Regions from separate parts of the Homo sapiens genome. Here region 1 is linked to region 2. The links are contacts of gene promoters, found by promoter capture Hi-C in blood cells and fetal thymus (Javierre and others, 2016). All regions are on one chromosome and are shown on one strand. Each heading gives the region's core, a stretch centred on a gene start or on the middle of the fragment in contact. The rest is flanking DNA. Distances are from core to core; before and after follow the strand shown.

Region 1 (6,172 bases), core at 3,547-6,046, 63 kb before region 2:
TATTCCAGTCGCACAATGCTTGGTATTACATAACCTTCCAGTCCTTTTTTCTCTACACAAATAAACTTTTTTTAAAGAAAATAAAACATGATATTATGTTGTCTATATGTTTACATCTCCTGCTTTGTTCATTTAATATAGCACAGGTTTTCACATCATTAGTCTTCCACATGATGTTTAATGCTGTATTGTACTCCAGAGCATAACATACTGTAATCTATTCAACTAATCCTTTAAGGTTAGATGTTTAGGCATGCAGAGTTATTGTTGAGAGATGAAAACATAAAGACTATAGTTATGAGACTGGTTTTTGTGTGTGACTTGAGGTACTAGTTTTTTCCCTGATAGTGTCACCTCATTCATGTAAAGTCAGCACAGCTCTCTCTACTTTCTCACAACTGAGGCACCCCCCACTTAGCCAAAATCATATGTAGAGTGTTTTATTTATAAAGAAGCCTTTCGTTAATACTGGGAAACTGAAAAAAACCCAGTACATTAAAAATATTTCACAAATCATTCACTCATGATTATGACACTAATTGGAAACTGTGGAATTATCTTTTAAATGTCAAGATACAAGGAGGTGCTCATTTTATTTTATAGAAAGTATCACAGGGTTTGAGCAAACTTGCCCAGGAACCAGAACATTTGCAGAGCAGAAATGCAGAGAGAAAATGGAGCATGTTTATCAAATAATGTAAATAAAGTTATCAGTGGTTTGATAGCTTCTGAAAACAACAGACTCTTGCATTTAACAAAGTCATTTCAACCATCTGTTCAAAAACCACGATTCCATACAAGGTCAGGCTTCTAAAGGTACAAAGCTGAAAGGAATTTTACAGGCTTAAATTCTCAGTTTCCCACAATGTCTGTACCCTAGGGGCTTGGAGGGATGCTGCTGTCTACTGCACCGTCTCAGAAAGTGGGACTTGAGCAGCTCAGACCCTGCCCTGTGGTTTGAAGACTTGAAGGCTCTGAGAAGTGCTTCCATAGCAGAGTAGTGACCTTTGGAGCTAACTGGCTAAATACGTGATTAAAATCATTATGAAAATAATACTTATTTTTAGAAAACTTGATGTTACAATCAACATTGTTATGTATATTAAATTTGACCCAACTGTTTGAAAATCTTTTGATATATGTCTTATACCTTAAACATAATGTTAATATATGCTATTCATTCATGCAATAAATATTTATTTGGTGCTTGTTGCCAGACACCCTTCCCAAGAAAAGAGCAGAAAAAGCCCTTCTGTCATGAATCTTACATTCTCATGTTAGGGGCTGTCCATAAAATAAATAAGCCAACAAATTAATAAAATAATTGCAATGACTATCAATAAGTGCTATGAAGAAAATAAACATGGGCTGAGTTGAGAAAAATGAAGCGAGATGTTCTTTAGGTAGGCAGCCAGGGAGGAACTCTTAAAGGAGATGAAGTTTAACCTGAGATGTATCTCCATGAAGAGAGAGATCTAAGCTTGGGAGCGTGGGAGGAGGGACATTCCAAGTAGAGGGAACAGCCTCCCAGGCCTCTGACGATAGATCAGACCTGGCATATCTGAAGAACTGAAAGAAGACAAGCATGGCAGAGTGTGGTGATGGAGGAGTGGGACAAGATGAGGCTGAAGAGATGGTTAGGACCCTGTTAAACAAGGCCTTGTAGGCTGAATAGGAACCCGGTTTTTTTTCAGAATGCTAAGTCCATCATCACGTTTGTAACGATGCTTTCCTAAAGGTCCTACTCAAGAAGTTAAACAAACTCAAAGTCAATGAATTGTTCTATTTTAAGAATAAAGACGTAAGAGTTCTTTTAATGAGAACTCAGGAGACTTACAGCATCATGCAGCTAAATTCAACCAGTCAAAGTGGGTTGGGGCTAGGGTGATCATATATCCCAGTTTGCTCAGAAGAGTCCCAGTTCACACCTGTGTTTCCAGCATCCTCTTGGTGTGTACCATTTGTCCCAAATACTTCACTTTTTAATGGAGTGTGCTTGTTAGTAGTTGCATTAAAACAAGCCAGAATGGATTGGGCAGACAGCTACTTTATACTTCCAGCTTCTCTCCTTTCATGGTGTTATGGAATAGTGTGTGAGATGTATATATAATGTTGACTTTTCACTTTAACATATGGTAAAATCTGACAGACGCTAACAATAACCCATTTCTCTTTTTTCAGCTCTTTCCAGCAGCAATGTAGCTAATATTTTCTTTTCAGGAGAACCATACAGGACTGTTGCTGATAAAATGAAGTTGGCAGTCATTCCTTGGAGATATCGCAGGTTCAGTTCCAGACCACCACAATAAATTGAATATTGTGATAAGCAAGTCACATAAATTTTCTGGCTTCCTAGTGTATGTAAAAGTTATGTTACATGCCAGGCATGGTGGCATGCACCAGCTACTTGGGAGGCTAAATTGGGGGTATCACTTGAGCCCAGGAGTTTGAGACCAGCCTTGGCAACATAGTGAGACCCTGTCTCTACAAAAAATTTAAAAAATTATTTGCCAGGCATGGTGATGCATTCCGGTAGTCTCAGCTATAGGCTGAGATGGGAGGATTTCTGGGCCCAGGAGGTCAAGGCTACAGTGAGCCATGATCATGCCACTGCACTCCAGCCTGGATGACATAATGAGACCCTGTCTCCAATAATAAAATACCAGTCATCTGAGCCTTCATCGAGTCATAATCCTTTTGCTGGGGGAGGGTCTTCCTACCTGTAAGAAGCAAATCCTCATCTGTTCAAGTTTGATCATGAGATTGAGCCACTTAGTCTCATCTTCAGGCTCTACTTCTAGTTCTAGTTTTCTTGCTATTTCCACCACCTCTGCAGTTACTTCCTGCCTGAAGTCTTGAACCCCTTAAATTCATCCACGAAGGTTGGAATTAACTTCTTCCAAACTCCTGTTAATGTTGATATTTCTACATCCTCCCATGGATCACAAATTTTCTTGATGACATCTAGAATAATGAATTTTTCCCAGAAGGTTTTCAATTTACTTTGCCCAGATCCATCAGGGGAATCACTATATATGACAGTTTATGAAATGTGTTTTTGTATAATAAGACTTGAAAGCCAAAAAATTATTACTTGATCCATATGCTGCAGAATAAATGCTAGACTTTCAGAGGGCAAATGAGAATTGGCTTCATCTTAAAGTCACCAGTTGCATTAGCCCCTAACAAGGGAGTCAGCCTGTCCTTTGAAGCTTTAAAGCCAGGCATAGACTTCTCTTCCTCTCTAGCTACAAAAGCCTTAGAAGATATCTTCTTCCAATGGAAGAAGATCTGTTTTACTTACATTGAAAATCTGTTGTTCATTGTAGCCACCATCATCAATGATCATAGCTAGATCTTCTGGCTAACTGACTGCAGCTTCTACATCAGCACTTGCTGCTTCACCCTGTACTTTTATGTTATGGAGATACAACTTCTTTCCTTAAACCTCATGAATCAACCTCTGCTAGCTTCAAACTTTTCTCATGGAGCTTCATCACGTCTTTCTGCTTTCATAGAATTGAAGAGAGCTGGGGCCTTTCTCTTGATTAAGCTTCGGCTTAAGGGAATGTTGTGGCTGGTTTGATCTTCTATCCATACCACTCCAACTTTCTCCATATCAACGAGAAGGGTGTTTCACTTTCTTATCATTCATGTGTTCCCTGGAAGTAATTTTCTTCAAGAACTTTTCCTTTGCGTTCACAATGTGGCTAAGTTTTTGGCTCAAGAGGCCTAGCTTCTGGCCTGTCTTGGCTTTCCATATGCCTTCGTCACTAAGCTTAATAATTTCTAGCTTTTGCTTTAAAGTGCGATGTGAGACTCTTCCTTTCACCTGAACACTTAGAAACCATTGTAGGGTTATTAATTGGCCCAATTTCAATATTCTTGTGTCCCAGAAAATAGGGTGGCCCAAGGAGAGGGAGAGAGATGGGGAAAGGCTTGTTGGTGGAGCTGTCAGAACACACATAGCATTTATTGATTAAGTTCAATGTCTTATATGGGCATGGTTTGTGGCACCTCAAAACAATTATAATAGTAACATCAAAGATCACTGACCATAGATCACCATGACAGATATAATAATAAGGAAAAAGTTTGAAATACTAATAATAAGGAAAAAGTTAGAATTACTAAAACGTGGCACAGAGACATGATGTGAGCACATGCTGTTGGAAAAATGGCACCAATAGACCAATGCAGGGTTGCCACAAACCTTCAATTTGTAAAAACCATAACACACAGCTCAATAAAGTAAAGCACAACAAAACAAGGTATGCCTGTACTCAGTCATGAGCAGTTAGGGACAGATAACTCCTGGTCTCAGGTAGTGGTAAAAGAGATATTCTATGCTGCTGGCCCTGCCAGACAGTCTATCAGCTTGTGCCACTCTCTATAAATGCACAAAGTCAGCAAGTCACTAAGTTGGTGGAAAACGTGGGAAATTATGGGTTAGGTACATATAAAGTATGTACAGAAGACAGAAGACAAGAAGTCCTGCCATAGAACTTACTGTGTAGTCTGAATGCTGCAATTGTTTTGCCATTTATTGAATTGAATGGCATAAATCCAAATAAATCCATGACTATTTTGTTGTTCTGCAATGCTTTTTTATTTTACAATAAACCCTTTCAATAGCAGTGACCTCAAGGAAATGAAAACATGAGTTTAGTACAAAATCAAGTACAGAATTGCCATTTCTCAAGAAAGTAAATGATTAAAGTGAAACTTGCACAAAATGTAGACATTTGCCATCCACCGTGGGACCCATTGTGATATCACTGACCACTTGAAAACAAGGAAATACAAATCTGCTGAAAAATCATCAGGGTCTACTTCGAAAGTTAATGGTAAATTTAAGAAGACGCATGTTGAATGTGACAACAGTTGAGCAGGTGCAGCTTCAGAAGGTGCATTTATACAACCTCTTTTAAAGCATAACTTTTCATTTAGGTTAAATGATCGTTTATCTATTTTAATTTTGTTCTTTTAAAATCCCGTTTCCTCATGTACATACACTTGTAAAGTGTTAGTGAAAAATGATAGCGGATAATTAGCATAAGAAGAACTTGCCAAAATGGCCTCAATTTTGTATCAATGTCATCTGGTGATTCAAGTAAAAATCTAGTTAACTCTGATGACAGTTGAAGGCTCTCATCCAATTCAGGGAATCAAAGTAAAACTTTTAGGATTTTCTTTTGTTGAAAGTGAAACATCTGAGATTATTGCGAATGCTATTGTAAATTCTGTTACAGAGTACAGCATTGAGGATTAAATGATTTGTTTTTGCATCCATAATATGCTTACAAATTCTGGCGATGTACACCATTGTGGAAAAAATAATGCTCTTACTAAATTAAACTTGTAGAGCAAAAATGTACTTGGAATTGATTGCCATGCACATGACTCATAATTGGGTTAAACAAGCTATGATATTCTACCAATTGACATAGAAGCTGTATTGCCAAAACTCACAAACATTTTTACATATACGCAGATAAAATAACTGAACTACATAGTTTTCATGGTGATACTGATATTGAAGAAAGAAAATACTTGGGTATAGCAACATGTGAACCCACTCTTTGCTGTTCATCATTAATTAGATTTTAGAAACATTTGAGTCCTTGAAAAACAAATTTGTAACACAACATAAGTATCTTATATTGGCATTGACATTTTTTGGTAAATGTGTCCTTTAAATTTTGGTTGCATTTCATTCAAAATCAGCTGGAAATCTTCAATCAAGGTATCAAATGAGTAGAGCACCCCAAAACTTCAGCTTTTAAATTTTGGCAAACTGCAATTATCGAAGGCAAAGCTTATGAACAAGAAGATATTAAAATTAAGCAATACAAAAGCATGGGAGGAACTGAACAAAACAATAAATGACAGTTTAAATGGTTTATAAGATTTAGTTTTAAAGCTTCATGATTGTGCTCTGGGCTATTTTAAGTTATATAAAAAATGTTTGGTAGACCTCTCATTTTTAGTTGCATAAGTTTCTATTCTGTACTAGAATAAAATGAAATGGAAAGGACCTGTATTTTTGCAGTATCTATATTTGTTCAAACACTCAAATAATCATATTATAGAGAACTTTTAAATAATTTTTCCCTTTTTAAAAATGTTTGTCAAAGGTACCAAGCTGATAGTCAAAAGAGGCAAAAATGAC
Region 2 (6,051 bases), core at 314-2,813:
TCAATATTCAGTGATGGATACCCCCAAATACCCTGGCTTAATCACTACATATTCTACACATGTAAAATATCACACGTACCCCATAAATGTGTAAAATAGTATGTATAAATAAAAAATAAAATCTTAGCTCTTCTTCTTATGCTGAGATGAGCTTGCAAAAATCACTTTGAGCAGAAGCATCCCCACTTGTGAAGGGGGCATGACACCTTCTTCACAGAAGGGTGAAGAACATTTAAGGTGCTCATTCGTGCTTGGAGTATTATGCATGGCTCAATAAACATTTGCTGTTTTTCTGCTTTCTTTCTCATCCTGACCCTGAGATTTCTAAGTATCTTTATAAAGCAACCAGTACTCATTTCTTAGAAATTTTAGAAGGAGCCTCAACATTTTTCCAGTCTGACTTTTCTGGAATCCTTCCCACAGCTTCCCTTTCCAAGGGCCTCTGAGCCTTGGCAAAGCCCAGTCCATGGCTTCCTTGTGAGCAGGTGGCCTATTCCACGGTAGGACAGGTCTTACCATGGTAATAATGTCACTTGCTTTTTATTTAGCTAAAATTTGACTCCCTAAAATATTCGACCTATTTTAACCTCTAGATTCTCAATGAAGAACTAGTAAGACTTCCAGTTCCACCTCTTAATCCTTCAGCTGTTATGTAATACCAGTACCAGGCAGGGCCATCGCATAATGTAGAGCTTGGTCCAGGCGTGGCAGAGAACTTCTTAAGTGACACAAAGCAAATGAATGAATCATGCCCCTGGCAGTTGGCAAACTTTCTAATAGGGGTGTGTTTTACTGCCTCCTGCACTCTATAACTGCTCTTCCAACTGTGTCTTCTCCCCAGTCAACTCATCAGGACCTTTTCTCTCCCTCTCTACCAATGCTGACCTTCCTTTCCCCTTAGCCTTAGTGGATGATGGTTTCTTTATTCCTATATGGAAGACATAGCTGAGAAAGTTGATTAGGAAAACTGTTTTTGCTAATTCCATCACATCGTGTAGGGAAAAGATAGAACTTAATTACTTAATTGCGTAACAAGTAGAGAAACACAGCAATCAGACAATAAAATGAACAGTAGCTTTTTGCCTTAAACAATTCTTTTAAGTCTGAGCTCAATGATACACAACTAGACCATCAAATTATTTTGATATTGAGGAAAACAGAAGCTCTTTTGGATAACCCTGAATTCCAGGCTTTCAGTGGAAAAGACAAAGACACGCACTGTACACCATTAAGTACTTGGGAGACATGATTTTAACCAGGATGTAACTCAATTATATTAGTGATTTATAAAGAGTCTGGAGAAAATATTTCTTTATTTGGGCATGGGCACTGTCAGATTAAAGGTGCAGTGGTTCTAAATGCTGTTTGTTCCAGCCCTGTCTTCGATTGCAACAATGTGAGTGTCTTGTCTGTGCTGGTGGATTATTAACAGAGGTTATTGGTCTCCATGGCAAAACGATTGAATGATTGCTCTGAACGTAATCTCATTTATGGGGGTGCAAAAAACAAAGCACTTCAGGTCAGGGAGAATGTATAAATGTCCATTGCCATCGAGGTTCTGCTATTTTTGAGAAGCTGAAGCAACTCCAAGGACACAGTTCACAGAAATTTGGTTCTCAGCCCCAAAATACTGATTGAATTGGAGACAATTACAAGGACTCTCTGGCCAAAAACCCTTGAAGAGGCCCCGTGAAGGAGGCAGTGAGGAGCTTTTGATTGCTGACCTGTGTCGTACCACCCCAGAATGTGCACTGGGGGCTGTGCCAGATGCCTGGGGGGGACCCTCATTCCCCTTGCTTTTTTTGGCTTCCTGGCTAACATCCTGTTATTTTTTCCTGGAGGAAAAGTGATAGATGACAACGACCACCTTTCCCAAGAGATCTGGTTTTTCGGAGGAATATTAGGAAGCGGTGTCTTGGTGAGTAGGGAAGCTTAAAATCCCCCTAAGGGAGATTTTCCCTTCCCCACAATCCTTTTTAAATCAGGTACTTATTGAACAGGGAGATATTTAGTTGGTAATAGAAGCTCAAGCATTGCATGGTGAGAGGTCAATGCCTTAATTTTTTTCTCGTTTCTGTTAGGATCTGACAAGGACACGTCAGCTAAATTTACTAAGTAATTAATCTCTAAGCTTGGGCTGACAGTTCTCATGGGTCATTTGAGTCCCATGAACCGAAGTGAAGGTCGCATAGTTTCTTGATTCCAACAAGATAGTGCCCAAAACAATAACAACAACAAACCCACGATGCAAACCCACTAGAAAAGCAAATTGACTTAAAACCACCATGAGAAGCTGTTGTCAGTGTGGTCGTCTTCCACTTAGGACCTAATGATTTCTTTACCTCTGGTTTCCAATAGAATTGGGAACCTCCGTTTGAGAGAGTGAAAGGGAGAGAGACTCACTCTTCATGACAATTGAGGAAAAGTTTGTTATTCTTTTTTCTAACACACCATCTAAATGGAAACTCAGATTTTGAAATCTTGCCTCATTGAAGCTGGTTAGTCAGCCCAAATGGAATCTAAGTACTCCATAACACTCCATTACCCCTCCAGCCATGCTCTGTTACTTTGCCATTCCCTTTGGGCCTCCAAATCCCTCATTGTGGATGGGGCTCCTTATACAGTCAGGCAGGCTCGGGCCCTCCCTTCAACTCCTGGACTCTCTCTGAGGTGCCTCTTCTCCTGGTAGATGATCTTCCCTGCGCTGGTGTTCTTGGGCCTGAAGAACAATGACTGCTGTGGGTGCTGCGGCAACGAGGGCTGTGGGAAGCGATTTGCGGTGAGTTACCATGGGGGGCAGCTACTAGAATTACTCCAGGGTGCTCTGTGCTTTTGTGCTGGGCAGCATGGGGATGGAGACAAGTTATCAGCTCCAGCCAGGACTCTGGGAGCAGCTGGTGAAGGGATAAAACTGTGATTTTTCCTGCCAGTGTGAAATAATAATAATTTTCCAAAATACCATAGCCCTCATACTTATAGGGTATGAATATTGTATTAGATTTTACAAACCGACAGGGATGTCAGAACTGGAGATTCAGAGGGGTCCCATATACAGAATGCAAGCCTGGAAGGCAGAGATGAAGCTGCAGCATTCCTCTGCCACTGAGAGGCCATAAGAACTTGGACAAGTCATTTCCCTTTTCTGGCCCTGAATTGCCTCATCTGCAAAGGGGACTTGGGACAGGACAAAAGATGGTATCCTCCCCTCCCCAGTAGGCTTCTAGGTTCCTCACTCACACCACTTCCATGTTCTCTATTTCTGAGGCCCAGCGCCTCTGGCTTCCACCAGGCTCTGCTTCAGGACTTCTGTTTCCTCTCTTGTTTCATGCGGCCATCGATCTTGAACTAGAGACGTTAGGCATCAAAGTTCCAGAGTGCAGTGGAAAGAATGCTGGGACATGGGGACAGGACCCATTCTGCAATTGAGCAAGTCATTCTACTGCTCTGCCTCCCTTTGCTCATGTATAAAGCAGGAAGCTGGACTAGACCAGAATTTCTCAAGTATGGGACAAGCTCTGGTGCTACACAGATGTGCTATATCTTTCCACAACATAGAATGTCATTCCCATTCAATTCTCCTTCAATCCTTTTGAATCTATCAATCTATCAAGAAAAAGATCTTATTTTGGTAGACATAAGTCTTTCTTTTTTCTTTTCTGTTTTTTTTTGTTTTTGTTTTTGTTTTTTTTTTTTTTTTTGAGACAGGGTCTCACTCTGTTTGCCCAGGCTAGATCTTGGCTCACAGCAGGCTTGAACTTCTGGGCTCAAGTGATTCTCCCACCTCAGCCTTCCAAGTAGCTGGGAGTACAAGTGTGCCACCCCACGCAGCTGATTTTTTGTATTTTTAGTAGAGACAGAGTTTGGGCATGTTTCCTAGGCTGGTCTCAAACTCCCGGACTCAAGCAATCCGCCCACCTGAGCCTCCCAAAGTGCTGGGATTACAGGTGTGAGGCACTGTGCCCAGTCGTCTTTACTATTTTTTACCCTTTATAATCTCCCTTTCTAACAAAGAGAGGACAAGTCTTAGGCTCCAGGAATGAATGCAACGTTGTTTAACTAAAATGCAACTATATTGTGTTTCTATCTGCCAATGATTCTAATTTTTCATTCATATAGTGATATAAATGAACACAATGAGAGCTGACAAAAAATATTAAGAGTTAGATATATTGATGAGGCAGAAATGAAGCATAGTAGAACTGGAATTACTGGTCTGAAAAATGAGGAAGATCAGTTTCTCCTGTAATCTCCCATGGTTCACATGTCCACCTAAAAGATTCATGAACCACAATAATGAATTAACCACATTTACTTTAACTTCCTAAAGGGAAAGGTGCATCTATCCATTCTGAAACAGGATCCTTTTAACATTTCTTTCTTAGCATTATTTGTTCATTTATTCAATCAAAAAATATTGAGCACATGTGAAAGGCTGAGGCTGCTCCAATGTGCATACATTACAGTTTCCATGTGAGTTCAAAGGTCAAAGAAAATATAACATCATGAGTCCCAAAAAAGTATTGATGATTGTTATGTTAACATTTAAAATCATCATTTACAAAGAGTTCTTTTTAAAAAACCCACAATTTAATATAATCATGTAATATACGTTTTATATAACAAAGGATATTTTATGTAATTATAAAGGAAAAGAAGGTATTTATAACTTATTTTCCCCTTGAATTATAATCCCATTATATGTTGTGAACTTTTGGGGGATAGAAGTTGGAGATGAGGATTTTTTTTTTAATTAGCTATTAAGAAAATAGGATGAAAAGAAAGAAGAGTCATTTATTTTAGAAATCTAAAATTTCACACCTGGTGCTGAGTAAAAGGCTAAAGACTGGCTAATATAAAAATAAGGGATCTTTTGTTTGCTTGATTTTTGTTTTTAGGTTTACATATAACCACAGTGAGAAGTGAGATAGCATTCTAAGTATTACACAAAACTTGGTTTTTAAAATCAGATGTAAATGAAATCCAAGATGAAGGCAAAAAAAGTTTGTCTTTTTGTTGTTGTTGTTTGTTTGAGATGGAGTTTAGCTCTTGTTGCCCAGGCTGGAGCGCAATGGCGCGATCTCGGCTCACTGCAACCTCTGCCTCTTGGGTTCAAGCGATTCTCCTGCCTCAGCCTCCCAAGTAGCTGGGATTACAGCCATGTGCCACCATGCCCAGCTAATTTTGTATTTTTAGTAGAGATGCTGTTTCTCCATGTTAGCCAGGCTGGTCTGGAACTCCCAGCCTCAGGTGATCCACCCACCTCGTCATCCCAAAGTGCTGGCATTACAGTCATGAGCCACTACACCTGGCCGGAAAAAAAATGTTTTTATAAGCACATTTCATTAAAAAAAATTTTGAGTCAATAGGATCTGAAATATTTGGGCTTCCCAATATAGGTTGTCTGTGGGGGCTGTCTAAGCCTCCATGTGGAACCTGCCCTTGGCATGAATTGAGGATAACTCCTCCAAATGACCAACTGACCATCCAAATCATGAGGCAGTGTCCATCAAAGGACCAGCTGTGCCAGATTGTAAACCAAGGCACCTAGCACGGCTGCCCTGGGCCAGGGTCGACCACATGCTGGGTAGCCAGCAGAAGGATTTCTTGTCTTTGATTTTTTTGTTTTGTTCTATTTTGTTTTTTTGAGGCGAAGTCTCGCTCTTGTCCCCCAGCAGGCTGGAGTGAGATGATGCAATCTCAGCTCACTGCAACCTCCACCTCTTGGGTACAAGCAATTCTCCTGCCTTAGCCTCCCGAGTAGCTGGGATTACAAGTGCTTGCCACCATGCTCGGCTAATTTTTTTTGTATTTTTGTTAGAGACGGGGTTTCACCATGTTGGCCAGGCTGGTCTCGAACTCCTGACCTCAGGTGATCTGCCTGCCTTAACCTCCCAAAGTGCTGGGATTACAGGCGTGAGCCACTGCGCCTGGCCGATTGTTCTGTTTTTTAATCAGCTCCCAATTTTTAAAAATTCAGAGAGAGAACATTTTTTCCCCAAGAAATAAAAAATTAATCTGGCACCCCTAGCCTGCATTTTGGCACAACAGCAC

The links. Contacts are between HindIII fragments. The CHiCAGO score rates a contact against its expected background, and 5 or more counts as called.
Region 1: a fragment that was not itself captured here is called in contact with the fragment with the promoter of TM4SF4 in region 2 in 1 of 17 cell types (endothelial precursors); the score reaches 5.1 in endothelial precursors.

Annotation. Positions count from the first base shown.
Region 1 is chr3:149,407,255-149,413,426 of GRCh38, forward strand. No RefSeq gene overlaps it. Among named protein-coding and RNA genes, the nearest start is that of TM4SF1-AS1, 33 kb to the left of the region's middle. The HindIII fragment of the contact is 2,040 bases long and covers 3,777-5,816 here.
Region 2 is chr3:149,473,134-149,479,184 of GRCh38, forward strand. TM4SF4 (transmembrane 4 L six family member 4) reads left to right here and starts at 1,564. Exons shown (of 5, transcript NM_004617.4): 1 at 1,564-1,918; 2 at 2,690-2,779. The coding sequence starts at 1,745. The HindIII fragment of the contact is 4,396 bases long and covers 1-1,929 here.